Linked DNA regions of Homo sapiens: region 2 is linked to region 1. Evidence: promoter capture Hi-C in human tissues and cell types (Jung and others, 2019). All regions are on one chromosome and are shown on one strand. The core of a region is centred on a gene start or on the middle of the fragment in contact, and the rest is flanking DNA. Distances in the headings are between cores, read along the strand shown. Region 1 holds the start of FAM50B (family with sequence similarity 50 member B). Region 2 overlaps SLC22A23 (solute carrier family 22 member 23).

Region 1 (6,093 bases), core at 339-2,838:
AGCAACCAAAGCATAACATCAGCAATAGCACAACCAATGTGAATCATGAGAACCCTCTGTCTTTATTAAATTTGGGGGAAGAAATCAAGGTCACGAAATCAAGTGACTGGTGATGGGGCCTAGAAATGAGTGTCTCCCCCCACCCCCGGTTTCCGCTCTGGCAGGCGGGTGTTAGCGGATGGTGTACTTGTCCCACTTCTTCTCGGGGTCATAGGCCTCCCAGCGGCTGGCGGGGAAGATGTGCTTGTTCTTCTCGTACCAGCTGCGCAGCACCACCTTGCCCGCGTGCGACTCGTCCTTCTCCATGGTGGCGTCGCTGAGCAGGCGCACGTCATCGTGCACATCGAAGCTGAAGAGCGGCCCGCTCTTGCCCCTCGCCCTGGCGATGATGAAGTCGTAGAAGGTGTGGTAGTGCGGCAGGATGAGGTCCTCCTTGATGAACATGAGCTGCTCCACGCCGGCGGAGCGCAGCTCCAGGAAGTCCTTGCGCAGCCCCTGCAGCGCCTTCTTCAGGAACTGCTGCACCGTGTTGCCCTTGCGCACCCGCACCGTGCGCCGGTGGCCCGAGCCGTCCCAGTAGCTGAAGGTGACCTCCATCTCCTCGTCCTTCACTTTCTCGCGCTGCGCCTCCCACTCTTGGCGCAGCTCCTCTCGGAGCCGGTTCTCCTCCTCCTCGCGGTCGCGGTCTGGCAGGAAGCTGGTGTCCACGTCGGGGTTCTTGCCCAGGTTTCCGGCGCGCCTGGCCTCGGCCGCGTCGGCCTGGTCATCGAGGTCGTCTAGTGCAAAGGACAGGCAGGAGATCTTACGCTTGCGCTCGCGCCGCTGCTCCTGCTCCCGCTGCCGCTCCTGCTGCAGCCGCTGCTCCTCCAGGTGCTGGCGCTTGGCCAGCTGCCGCTCGCGCTCCCTGACCAGGGCCTCCTGCCGGGCCTTCATGTCGTTCAGGGTCACCAGGCCCACCGTGCTGGACTTCAGCTCGGCCTCCACGGCGTCGTAATGCGCCGAGAACCTCTTGTCCACCTGCGACTTGAGGATGGTCTCCTCGGCGATGCGCTGCTTCAGCACCTCCATCTGCTCCCGCTGCCTTTCGCGCTTCTTGAGGAGGTGCATGGCACGGCCTGCCTCGCGCATGGTGCCCTTGTACTGCGCCATGGCCCGCGCCTACCCGATGGGCTCTGCAGCAAAGAGGAAAAACGCGGCAGGTAGAGGGGGGCCCACGCAACGGCGGGGAATGCTCAGCTCTGCGCCTCCTCACAGGGCTTTCGGCAGTGATGGAAGCGTTCAGGGGCTGGGCCGACCTGCTAGGGTAACCACCAACCTGACAGTGTCACCAGGCACCAATTTCCAGCATTTTATTTGACCTCAATAAATGCAAATGCGAACGGCCCCACGTAACGGGTGGCTGCCATGCCTGAGCGCAGCGCTGAATTTGGGGAGCTGCATACAGAGAGGGTTGGGCTACTGAGCGGACCCTTACCTGCCCAAGCACCCTGTCGAGCGGAGACACGCGGGAGCTGACCTCCACGAGAACCACCCACGAGCAGAGGCCCACTCGCCCCGGGCTCTCGCGACAGCCGTGGACACAGGAAGTGGAGGCGGTGCGCCCCCTGGCGGGGAGGCGGGCCCTGAGGAGAGTGCCAGGCTCCTGGTAGGGCGGCTGCGGAAACAGGAAGTGGAGGTGGATCGCCCCCTGGCGGGGAGGCGGGCCCTGGGAAGAGCTCCGGGCTCCTGGTAGGGGCGGTGCTCCTGTGGGGCGGGCCAGCGCGGGGAGGATCCTGGAGGAGGCGCTTCTGGCCCTGCCCAGCCGTGGCTGGCCGGGGCTCCTGTTTTCACGCTGTGGGCAGGGCGGGCCCCCACCTGCTGTGCGTGCGTGCTGAGCCTTCTCGTGCCCAACTGTAAACACGCAGAAGCAATGTGGGCGCAGCGCAAGCTGCTGTGGCCACCCAGAGAGCCTTGCAACACGGCCCTGCTCTCCAACCCTCCTCCTCCCGCCTCTGATGCTACCCCGCTGTGGCGTCTCGTGAACATTACCTGCGCACCACTGCCTGTAATTCTTTCTTATGGCCCCAACACAACCATTCTTTGATAATAGAACCCTACTCGCCCCCCAGTTTCGTGACAAAACCTGCACTCAGCTTGTTTGACCTCTTCTATACAGCAGTTTCCCCCGGGTTCTAAGCTCTAATAACCATGGGACACTGAGTTAAAGTGTAGCAGTGTCTTTACTGTGAGCCTCTAACATGCCAGTTTCCACTGTAACTCTCCAAGAGCAGGGCAGACCAGTTCATGTTTCGTGACCGTTTCTCCCCTGCAGGAGATCTGGTAACACTCGCCGAAACCAGTGCTTCCTGGGACCTAGTTTGGAAAAGCTGGTTGTGAAATACATACTGCGGTTCAGCCTCCTCCCGCCTAAGAGCAACAATGCCTGTGAGCATAACCTTACCAAGAAGCGTGAATCATATGATAATTACATATGGCACCCACATATCCAGAGGAGAACAGCACGGTGTGAGCCCTCATCAAATTGTCCAAGCCAGAAACCTAGGCCTTTTCCTGGAATGACGTTCCTCCACAGGTAATCAATTACAGAAGAGCCTTTCACACTTTCCTTTTTCTCCCATTCCCCACCACTTGCCTTAATCTAGGAAATTAGCATTTTTTTTAATCTAAAGCCTTCTCATTGTTGCCCCATCACCAGAATACAAGAATATCTTATTTTATTGAGCTCTGGGATACTGTGTGTTTTGTTTTTGTTTTTACAAATTGAAGATTTGTGGCAACACAGCGTCAAGCGCCTACTGGCTCCATTTTTCCAGCAGCATGTGCTCACTTCGTGTTCCTGTGTCACATTTTGGTAATTCTTGCAATATTTCAGACTTTTTCATTGTGATATCTGCTATGGTGATCTGTGATCATCGTTCTGTGAGGTTATTGTAATTGTTTGGGGGCACTCCGAAGTGTGCAGTAGAAGACAAAGACGTTTATTGATTTAACTGATAAATGTTATGTATGTTCTGACTGCTCCACTGACTGGCTGTTCCTTCATCTCTCTTCCTGTCCCTAGGCTTCCCTAGTGCCTGAGACACAGCAATATTGAAATTAGGCCAATTAATAACCCTACAATGGCCTCTAAGTGTTCAAGTGAAAAGAAGTGTCACACGTCTCTCACTTTAAATCAAAGGCTAGAAATGATTCAGCTCAGTGAGGAAAGTATGTCAAAAGCCAGGATAGGCCAAAAGCTAGGCCTCTTTTGCCAAACAGTTAGCTAAGTTGTGAATGCAAAGGAAAAAAATCTTGAATGAAACTGAAAGCGCTTTCCTGGTAAACATATGAATGATAAGAAAGCAAAACAGCCTTATTGCTTATATGGAGAAAGTTCTAGTGGTCTGGATAGAAGATCAAACCAGCCACGACATTCCCTTAAACCAAAGCCTAATCCAGGGCAAGGCCCTAAGTCTCTTCAATTCTGTGAAGCTGAGAGAGGTGAGGAAGCTTCAGAAGAAAAGTCTGAAGGTAGCAGAGGTTGGTTCATGAGGCTGAGGAAGGAAGTCACCTCTATAACATAAAGTGCAAGGTGAAGCAGCAAGTGTGATGGAGAAGCTGCAGCAGGTTATCCAGAAGATCTAGCTAAGAGCACTGATGACGGAGGCTACCCTAAACAATACATTTTCAATGTAGACAAAATAGCCTTCTATTGGAAGAAGATGCCATTTAGGACTTTTATATCTAGAGAGGAGAAGTCAATGCCTGGCTTCATGGCTTCAAAGGACAGGTTGACTCTCTTGCTAGGGGCTAGTGTAGCTGGAGACTTTCAGTTGAAGCCAATGCTCACTTACCATTCTGAAAATCTTAGTGCCCTTAAAAATTATGCTAAATCTACTGTGCCTGTGCTCTGTAAATGGAACAACAAAACCTGGAGGACAGCACATCTGTTTACAGCATGGTTTACTGAATATTTTTAAGCCCAGTGTTGAGACTTACTGCTCTGATTATTCCTTTCAAGATATTATTACTCATTAACAATGCACTTGGTCACCTAAGAGCTTGATGGAGATGCTCAAGGAGATTAAAGTTGATTTCATGCTTGCTAACACAACATCCATTCTGCAACCCATAGATCAAGGAGTAATTTTGACTTTTAAGTCTTATTATTTAAGAAATACATTTCCAAAGGTTATAGCTGCTGTATGTAATGATTTCTCTGATGGATCTGGGCAAAGTAAATTGAAATTTTTCTGGAAGGCATTCACCACTGTAGGTGCCATGAAGGACATTCACAGTTTTTGGGAGGAGGTAAAATATCAACATTAACAGAAGTTTGGAAGAAGTTGATTCAAACAGCATTACATGTTACAAAGAAATCTTTCGTGAAAGGTAGAATCAATCAATGTGACAAACTCAATATTGATTTAAGAAACTGCCACAGGCCCAGCCTTTGGCAACCACCACCCTGATCAGTCAGCAACCATCAACACTGAGGCAAGACCCTCCACCAGCAAATAGAGCACAGCTCACTGAATGCTCAGAGGATCATTAGCATTATTTAGCAATTAAGTATTTTTAATGAAATTATGCACATTATTTTCTTAGACAAAATGCTACTGCACACTTACTAGACTATAGTATAGTATAAACATAACTTTTATATGCACTAGAAAATTTAAAAATTTGTGTGACTGTCTTTGTGGTGGTCTGGAACTGAACCCACAGTATCTCCGAGGTATGCCTGTATTCTTGTTCTTGTCTAACTTCTATACAATATCCTCAGAGATCTTCATAAAAAATGAATCTGATAACATTACTCTCCTACTTGAAAAACTCCAACTTCCCTTGTAACAGCCACATCAGAATCTCTTTGTTTGTCCTCTAAGGTCTCTAATAGGTGGACCCCTGCAGCATTCACCCAGCTTTTTCACTGCGCCTGAATAGAAGATGCCCTTTCAGGCCAGGCGCAGTGGCTCACACCTGTAATCCCAGCACTTTGGGAGGCCGAGGCGGGTGGATCACGAGGTCAAGAGATCGAGACCATCCTGGCCAACATGGTGAAACCCCGTCTCTAATAAAAATAAAAATAAAAAAAATTAGCTGGGTGTGGTGGTGCATGCCTTGTAGTCCCAGCTGCTCGGGAGGCTGAGGCAGAAGAATTGCTTCAACCCAGGAGATGGAGGTTGCAGTGAGCCAAGATCGCACCACTGCACTCCAGCCTGGTGACCCAGAAAGACTTCATCTAAAAAAAAAGTTGCCCTTTCATAACTGTTACCTCTGGACGTACTCTTTCTAGAAAGTCCTGCCCTTCGCTGTGCTATCCCTGAAGATCAGCACAAATGTCATCTCCAAGAGGAAGCCTGGAGCACCCACCATCACCATCACCACCCACAGATGGACAAAATTACCAATAGTCTCCTCTCTCAGGTTTCCCATATAATTACCTTTATTACACTTAACATAAATAAGATAGCCTCTCCACCTCTTTTTTTCAGTTAAATGATCCAACCAACTAAACTTTAATTCAATCGACTATCGTTTGGCCACAAATACTATATTCACTCTTTCTCTAATCGAATCAGAACTTGAATGTCAATATCATCCCTAAACCTTATCATCCACCCTCCCATTATCCAGCATCCACCTCCTGAACTCAGTCACGGCCTCCAAATACTATAGCCAGCTCCCAGAATTAAAAGGTTGAGCCTCAAATTCTCAGAAAAGTTTAACAAGAAAAACAACTAGAAAGAAGGAGATTTATCCTAAAAGTCTGATATACTGTTCTGTAGAATTTTCCCCTAAGTTCCAAGATGATAACTTCCTCTTTCAGCCTTAATTCTCAGCGAAAATACCCACAAAACTAAAAGCTACTGCTTTAAGCTCTTAAATTTTATCAGCAAAATGAGGCTGAGGACCCGAGCCCACGCAAATGGTGAAACTTTAAGAAAGAAGAATAAATAGAACAAAAAAGAATGATTGTTCTAGTTATTCTTCCCTGATTGAGACATTATGGTTTGTTTTTCCAATAGGTTTTGTCATAAAGGAGGAAATAGGCATATTACAGAAAAGTTTGAAAAGAAATGTAAATAAATAAAAAGTTCACTCAACATG
Region 2 (6,073 bases), core at 3,533-6,032, 490 kb after region 1:
TGACAGGTGTCCCAGCCGTGGAGGCCTTTGCGATCTGTTGAGATGGCCTCATGTTTCTTCTTGCCCCCACAATGTGATTCAGCAAAAAGACAACTGGGTAACAGACGCATGGAGCAGTATTTCTTGGATCCCATGGGGCTTGCTGTGTTGAGACTGGGCTTTCGAGTCTGAATTCAACTGAGAGTGAGGTGTTGCTGATGCAGAGAGACTCATGGGCCCAGCCCCTTGTCCTCTGTAAAGCTGGGAACAGAAGCTAAGTCTGGAGAGTCGAACCCCAGAGTTTTAGAGATAGAACTGATAGGCAGGTCGCCGTTCTCCTGGGACCCCAGTCTTTGTGGCCTTTCCCAGCAGCTGAACTTTGGACCCCTCTCTCTGTGACATCCTGCTCCTAACCTGGCCACATGATGCTGCTTGAGAATCCAGCCACAGCCTGAGCCAGGACAGCTCTCAAGAGAGGAGGACAGGCTGTGGGATGAACGGTCATGGCCACAGATGGAAGGGACCCAATTCCTTAAAAAAAAAAAAAAAAAGAATGATGTAGGAGTCTTTAAGCTTCTCTAAAGGGCAGGGCTTGGGGGTCCCTGTGTCCCTCTTATTGAAGCACGTTTCCCTCTCTTTTTTTTCAGTAGAAAGACAGTTGAGGGGGTGTGTTCTGTGTGACACTGCTGCAGGCTCCTTTGGGGGAGAAACCCTGATCTAAGTCACAGCTGGTTGGGGTCTTAAGTCCTTAAGCAGTTTAACTTGGGGTCAGGCATAAAATGGGGGGGGTGGGTAGAAATAGAAAATATACAAACAACAGGAATATAAAATGTGGGACACCTTCTGTGGCCTGGACATCCCTGCTGCCTCGAGCTCCCCGCAGCTGCTGATGTTCGCTAGCGCCTCTCGTCACCCCAGTACCACGCTCTGACCTTCTGTTCCTGCTGCACCTGTTCCCCACCCCAGCATCTTTGCCCGAGGGAAGGCTTCGTCCAATCCCGTTCCCGCCCTGGATGACCACGCCAGCTGTGGGCCTGCCTGGCCGAACGCAGGTCTCCATCAGAGGGGCCCGTCTGCATGGGGGTGCCTGCACACCTGTCGTGTCGACATCACTGAGGACCCCTTGGGGGCTCAGGCCAGCTTGAGGGCCTCTTTGTCTCCTAAATAACTGGGACAGTATCTGGGGCTTAGATGAGCAGTCAGCATAGCAATAAGTGACCGGAAATACAGAGATGTGTGGACTAAGACTGTTGAGGTTGACTCGGATGTGTGCAAAGGCCCCAAAGTGACCTCCCTCCACGGTTGAGCCGTTGCCTGAAACCCGACTATGAGAATGCAGTTCTGTATTTTAAGGCAGATGAGACAAATGCCCCCAAGAATGGCAATGCAGTGAGCTCTGTGACTCACCTCACCTCCTGGTGATTGAGCCTTTCTGATCCTCCTGAGTTTAAGGATCCTTGGGTGGATGGGTGGGCGGGGCACAGCTGAGGTCAGAGCTCTCAAAGGCCAATACTACGGACTTGCCTTTTTTGTTGTTGTTTTATTTGGAGGGGGGTGTTTGTTTTATCATGGTAAAATAAACATAGCATAAAAATTACCATTTTAACTACTTTTAATTGTACCATTCAGTGGCATTAAGTAATTCACATTTTTACACAGCCATCACCACCCTTCATCTCTAGAGGTCTTTTCATCTTCCCAAACAAACTCTGTCCCCAATAAACACTCCCCATTCCCATCCCTTAGTCCCGAGCAGCCACCCTTCTACTTTCTGTTTCTATGAATTTGCCTACCTAAGAACCTATTTAAGTGGATCATGCAATATTTGTCCTTTTGTGACTGGCTTACTTCACTTAGCATAATGTCTTCAGGATTCCCTCAGAACAAGGACCTCTAAGGACAAAAATAAGTGAAAATAAGAAAAAAAGAAAAAATGCTTCCTTTATACTATAGCATATGTTGGATATGGCCTCCCTTTTTAAGGCTGAGTTATATTTCATCCTCTGGATGGATCACATTTTCTTATCCATTCATCTGTTGATGGACACCTGCGTTGCTCCCACCTTTTGGCTGTTGTGAATATGCTGCCGTGAACATAGGTGTGCAAATATCATTTCAGGTCCTTGCTTTCACTTTTGGGGGGTTATACCCAAAAGTGGCATTGCTGAGTCAGATGGTAATCCTCTGTTTAATTCTATGAAGAACAGGGATATTGTTTTCTCCAGTTGGCTGCACCGTTGTACATTCCCACCAGGAATGTACTGGTGCACCAGGGTTCCAGTTTCCCCACATTCTTGTCAGCACTTGTTATTTCCTGTTTGTTTGACAGCAGCTACCATCCTGATGGATGTGAAGGGCTACCACATTGTCGCTGTGATGTACATTTCCCCGATGACAGTGACGTTGAGCATCTTTCCATGTGCTTCTTGGCCATCTGTATGTCCTCTTCAGTTTTTGTTTTGTTTTAAACTTGCACTCAGATGGATAGTTATATGTGTGACCTAAGGAGAACCACTCAGTGATGAAGAATAAACGTGGCAACACCAGCTAGCATAGCTTAGCAGCATCTGTTATCTGCCTGAGGGCGGTGAATTCCCAGTGAGATGCTCATTCTAGTACTGTCCTAGAATGAAATGAGTCTCAGCTGGCATGTTCCTCGCTCTCCTTCTCGGTGCCCATCTTTTTCTTAGTTGAAATGATCTGTGATTCTGGATGCAGCCCGTGTTGTTCTGGGACGTCTCTGTATTGCACTAAATTAATAAAGGAGCTTTCATTTTTGCAGTTATGTATTTTGAATTCCCTATTCTCTCTTCATCCTGAATGACTGAGACTTGATTAGACATCGGCACAGCGCACCTGACATGGCGCTGACATGGAAATGCAATGGGTGGCAGCTCGGGGTGCAGACCCCACCCAGGATGCTGTGCCCGAGGGGAGCCAGGGCTTCCCTTTGAAATGGCAAAGGTTCCCACCATCCCTCCAGCCCCCGATGGCAGATCCCTTCTCACTTCTTCCTCACTGGAGCTGTGACTCCTTCCGGTGTTTTCCTTGGGTTGATGAAACAGAAACTCTCCTGGGGCCTTTTTTATTTTATTTTTTAATTTTATTTGTGGTAAGAACATCTAACATGAGACCCACCCTCTTAACAGGTTTTTTCAGTGTACAGCACAGTATCGTGAACTATAGACACAATGTGTGCAGCAGAGTTCCAGAGCTTATTCATCTCGCCTGCCTGAAAGCTGATGCTAGTTGACGAGCAACTCCCCATGTCTCCCTCCCTCTACCCCCGGCAACCATCAGCCCACTCTTTGATTTTCTGAATTTGCCTATTTTTACATGCCTCATGTAAGTGGAATCATGTAGTATTTGTCCTTCTGTGACTGGCTTATTTCACTTAACATAATTCCTCCAAGTTCATCCACGTGTCGTACGTGTCAGAATTTCATTCGTTCTTAAGCGGAATCATATTCTATTGTATTTTTCACTGTGTTTCGTGTGTCCCTTCACCTATCAGTGGACCTCTGCGTTGTTTCCATATCTTGGCTGTTGTGGATAACACTGCAGTGAACGTGGGAGCGCTCACGTCAAGTGCTTTGAGATCCTAATTTCAATTCTTTTGGATAAGTACCTGGAAGTAGAATCACTGGATCATATGGCAGTTCTAGTTTTAGTTTTTTGAGGAACTGCCATACTGTTTTCCATAATGGCTGCACCATTTTTGCATCCCTACCAACAGTGTTTAAAGGTTCCAATTTCTCTCCATCCTGGGGACTTTGATACTGAGAACCTAACCTGTCTAGCCTCTTCTGCACTGGCCGCCTTTGCAAGAGCTGGTTGCCTCTCTGAAAACTCTCCTCCCAGGCCTCTTCCCTTCCCCTCACCCACATGGCAGGACAGTCCTACTTCCTTTTCCCTTAAGGGAAGATTCAAATGCTGCTTCTTTGGTGAAGTCTTCCCCAGGCCTCGTCCCTTTCTTTGCATTCCTGTAGCACAGAACCCCATCTGTGTCTTATAGGCACGTGTCTCTTCATCAGACTGTGAGCCCCTTGAGGCCGGTGGTGTGGCTTCATCTCGGCATCTCCCCTGGCATGGTGCTACCTCATCCTCCTTGCTGAATAAGTGAATGAAATGCATTCATTATACACAGCCGCCTTCTGTTTTCCATTATTTGTCATTATTCAGTGTGTTCTGTGAACCAGGAGCTGGGCATGGCTTGTTGAATAAGAACACAGTCCCTAAACTAAGGAGCTTTTAGGCTGGTAACCAAAAAGGGAAATTCTAAATTTTTTTATGATAAGCTTTTAGATATCTTTTTGATATTTAGAATGAAGTAAACACAGTAGATGTAGTCCAATTTTGGAAATCATTTAAGACCTGAGCCTAATTGAGCAGGTAGAAAGCCAGGAAGAACACACCTACTTTGTATTTGCAGTCCTTTCCTCATGCTAATTGATAAGGCGATTAATCCTTACACTATTGCTGAGCCACAACCCCATTTAAAAATAAAAATTAGGAAAGCTGTCTGGATAATTATTAGCAAAGACTTTACAGAGGCTGGGATAAGTCCTCCAGCTGGTTGTTTGCACTGGGAGTTTTACAGTGTACTTGACCTTTGCTTAAGGTAAGGGAGTTTGTTTGGCAAAAACAATGATACATATTTCCATGGCATTGGAATCCTGCTGGATTTCTGAGACTCTGGGAATGCAGATGTGGGCACTGGAGTAAATGTGAGCATTTCATTACAGTGCCTGCCTTGTTTTGGGTTTTTTTTTTTTTTTTTTTTTTTTTTTTGGCTCTGTTTTGGTTTTCTCTTCCAGGCTGTATTGCTAGGTTTACTGCTTTAAAATTGTCTTTATGGTCCAGGCTGCTGCAGCCTTTAGAACAAACCACGACAGTTGGGATCTAGAAGCCTGCGCCTCTCCTAGAGACACCACCTGCATCACAGTGTCGGTGACCTGACCTTTGAAGGGGCCATTTCCCATCTTGGAAATGGGGATACTACTTGATATTCTTATTTATAGGATTTGGTGAGGGCATATGAGGTAACACATCCACAGATGCTCTGAAGGGCTTGAGCGGGATCCTGCACCTTATTACAGGTGGTTGTTGGTATCTTGGGCAGGTTTCAAGACCTGGAGGTTCAAGCCAGCCCATCTCACTGCTGAGCCAATAAGGAGGAAGACAACAGGGTTACAACAAAGCTTCAGGCTTAGGAAGAAATGTTTCACGTGGATGGTGTCCTGGCCAGCGGGTTTGGTTCTAAAATAAACACTACTGTCTCTGGGGCTGAAGATTTGCCCAGGACAATGAAGCAGCCAGCGGGAGGGTAGTGCAGAGCCGGTAAGTTTAGGGTCAGCTTTATTTTCACAGGCAAATGAGGAAGTGAGAGGCTGCTAAAATCACTCCTCTGAGGCTTCCCCTGCCCCTTGGATGAGGTCGCTGCCATCTCTGAGATGGGGGTGTGGCCTGTTACCCTTGTAGGCACCGAGGGTGGATCTAAGACACTGTTTTACCATCCAATCCTGTCAGCGGTTCCATGGCCCACCGGTTTCCTTTTGAATGTTTCCAGGAGCCAGAAGTCCAGATCCCAAGGGCTGGCACGCAGAAGGAGGGCCCTCCCGAGAGAGCACGCGTGCTTCGATTTCTTTCGTGATTATGAGATGTTTCTGATGTCACGTGTATCTGCTACCCGGACTCGGAAACAAGCCTCATTAATAAGTCCCACCCTCCCGCCTCCACCCACCCCCGCCTCCTCCCGCCTCCTCCCCCTCCCGCGCCCCCCGCCTCCTCCCCCTCCCCTGTCCACAAGTCTCCCCACCCCGTTTGCTGTTTTTCATCCTCATGAGTTTCGTTAGGTTTTCCCACATCTAGAACACTGCGTTGTACAGTTTTGCCTTTAAAAAAAAACTTCCTACAAATGCTGTCGTACTGTGTTTGTTTTTCTGAACTTCCTTCTTTTTTTAATACCTCAGCGTTATATCCAGTGGCTCCTCCGTGTCGATGCGGAGACAGGGAATGAGTGAGAGCGACGCCGGCTTTGAGAGCTGGGGTTTGTGCAGGGCTGAGTGAGACCTTGGGCTCCCGTGGCCCAGAA

Evidence for each region. Contacts are between HindIII fragments. The study calls those that stand out against the background at their distance.
Region 2: a fragment that was not itself captured here is called in contact with the fragment with the promoter of FAM50B in region 1 in 1 of the 25 tissues and cell types used here (aorta).

Annotation. Positions count from the first base shown.
Region 1 is chr6:3,844,868-3,850,960 of GRCh38, reverse strand. FAM50B (family with sequence similarity 50 member B) reads right to left here and starts at 1,588. Exons shown (of 2, transcript NM_012135.3): 1 at 1,475-1,588; 2 at 1-1,172. The coding sequence starts at 1,149. The coding sequence ends at 172. LOC107986557 (a long non-coding RNA gene) reads left to right here and starts at 1,595. Exons shown (of 3, transcript XR_001743931.2): 1 at 1,595-1,645; 2 at 2,312-2,572; 3 at 4,869-6,093. RefSeq lists an enhancer at 1,405-1,524 and a silencer at 1,795-1,914. The HindIII fragment of the contact is 6,203 bases long and covers 1-5,419 here.
Region 2 is chr6:3,355,754-3,361,826 of GRCh38, reverse strand. The region is part of intron 3 of SLC22A23 (solute carrier family 22 member 23); the gene reads left to right. Among named protein-coding and RNA genes, the nearest start is that of SLC22A23, 98 kb to the left of the region's middle. RefSeq lists an enhancer at 4,794-5,684. The HindIII fragment of the contact is 4,734 bases long and covers 2,416-6,073 here.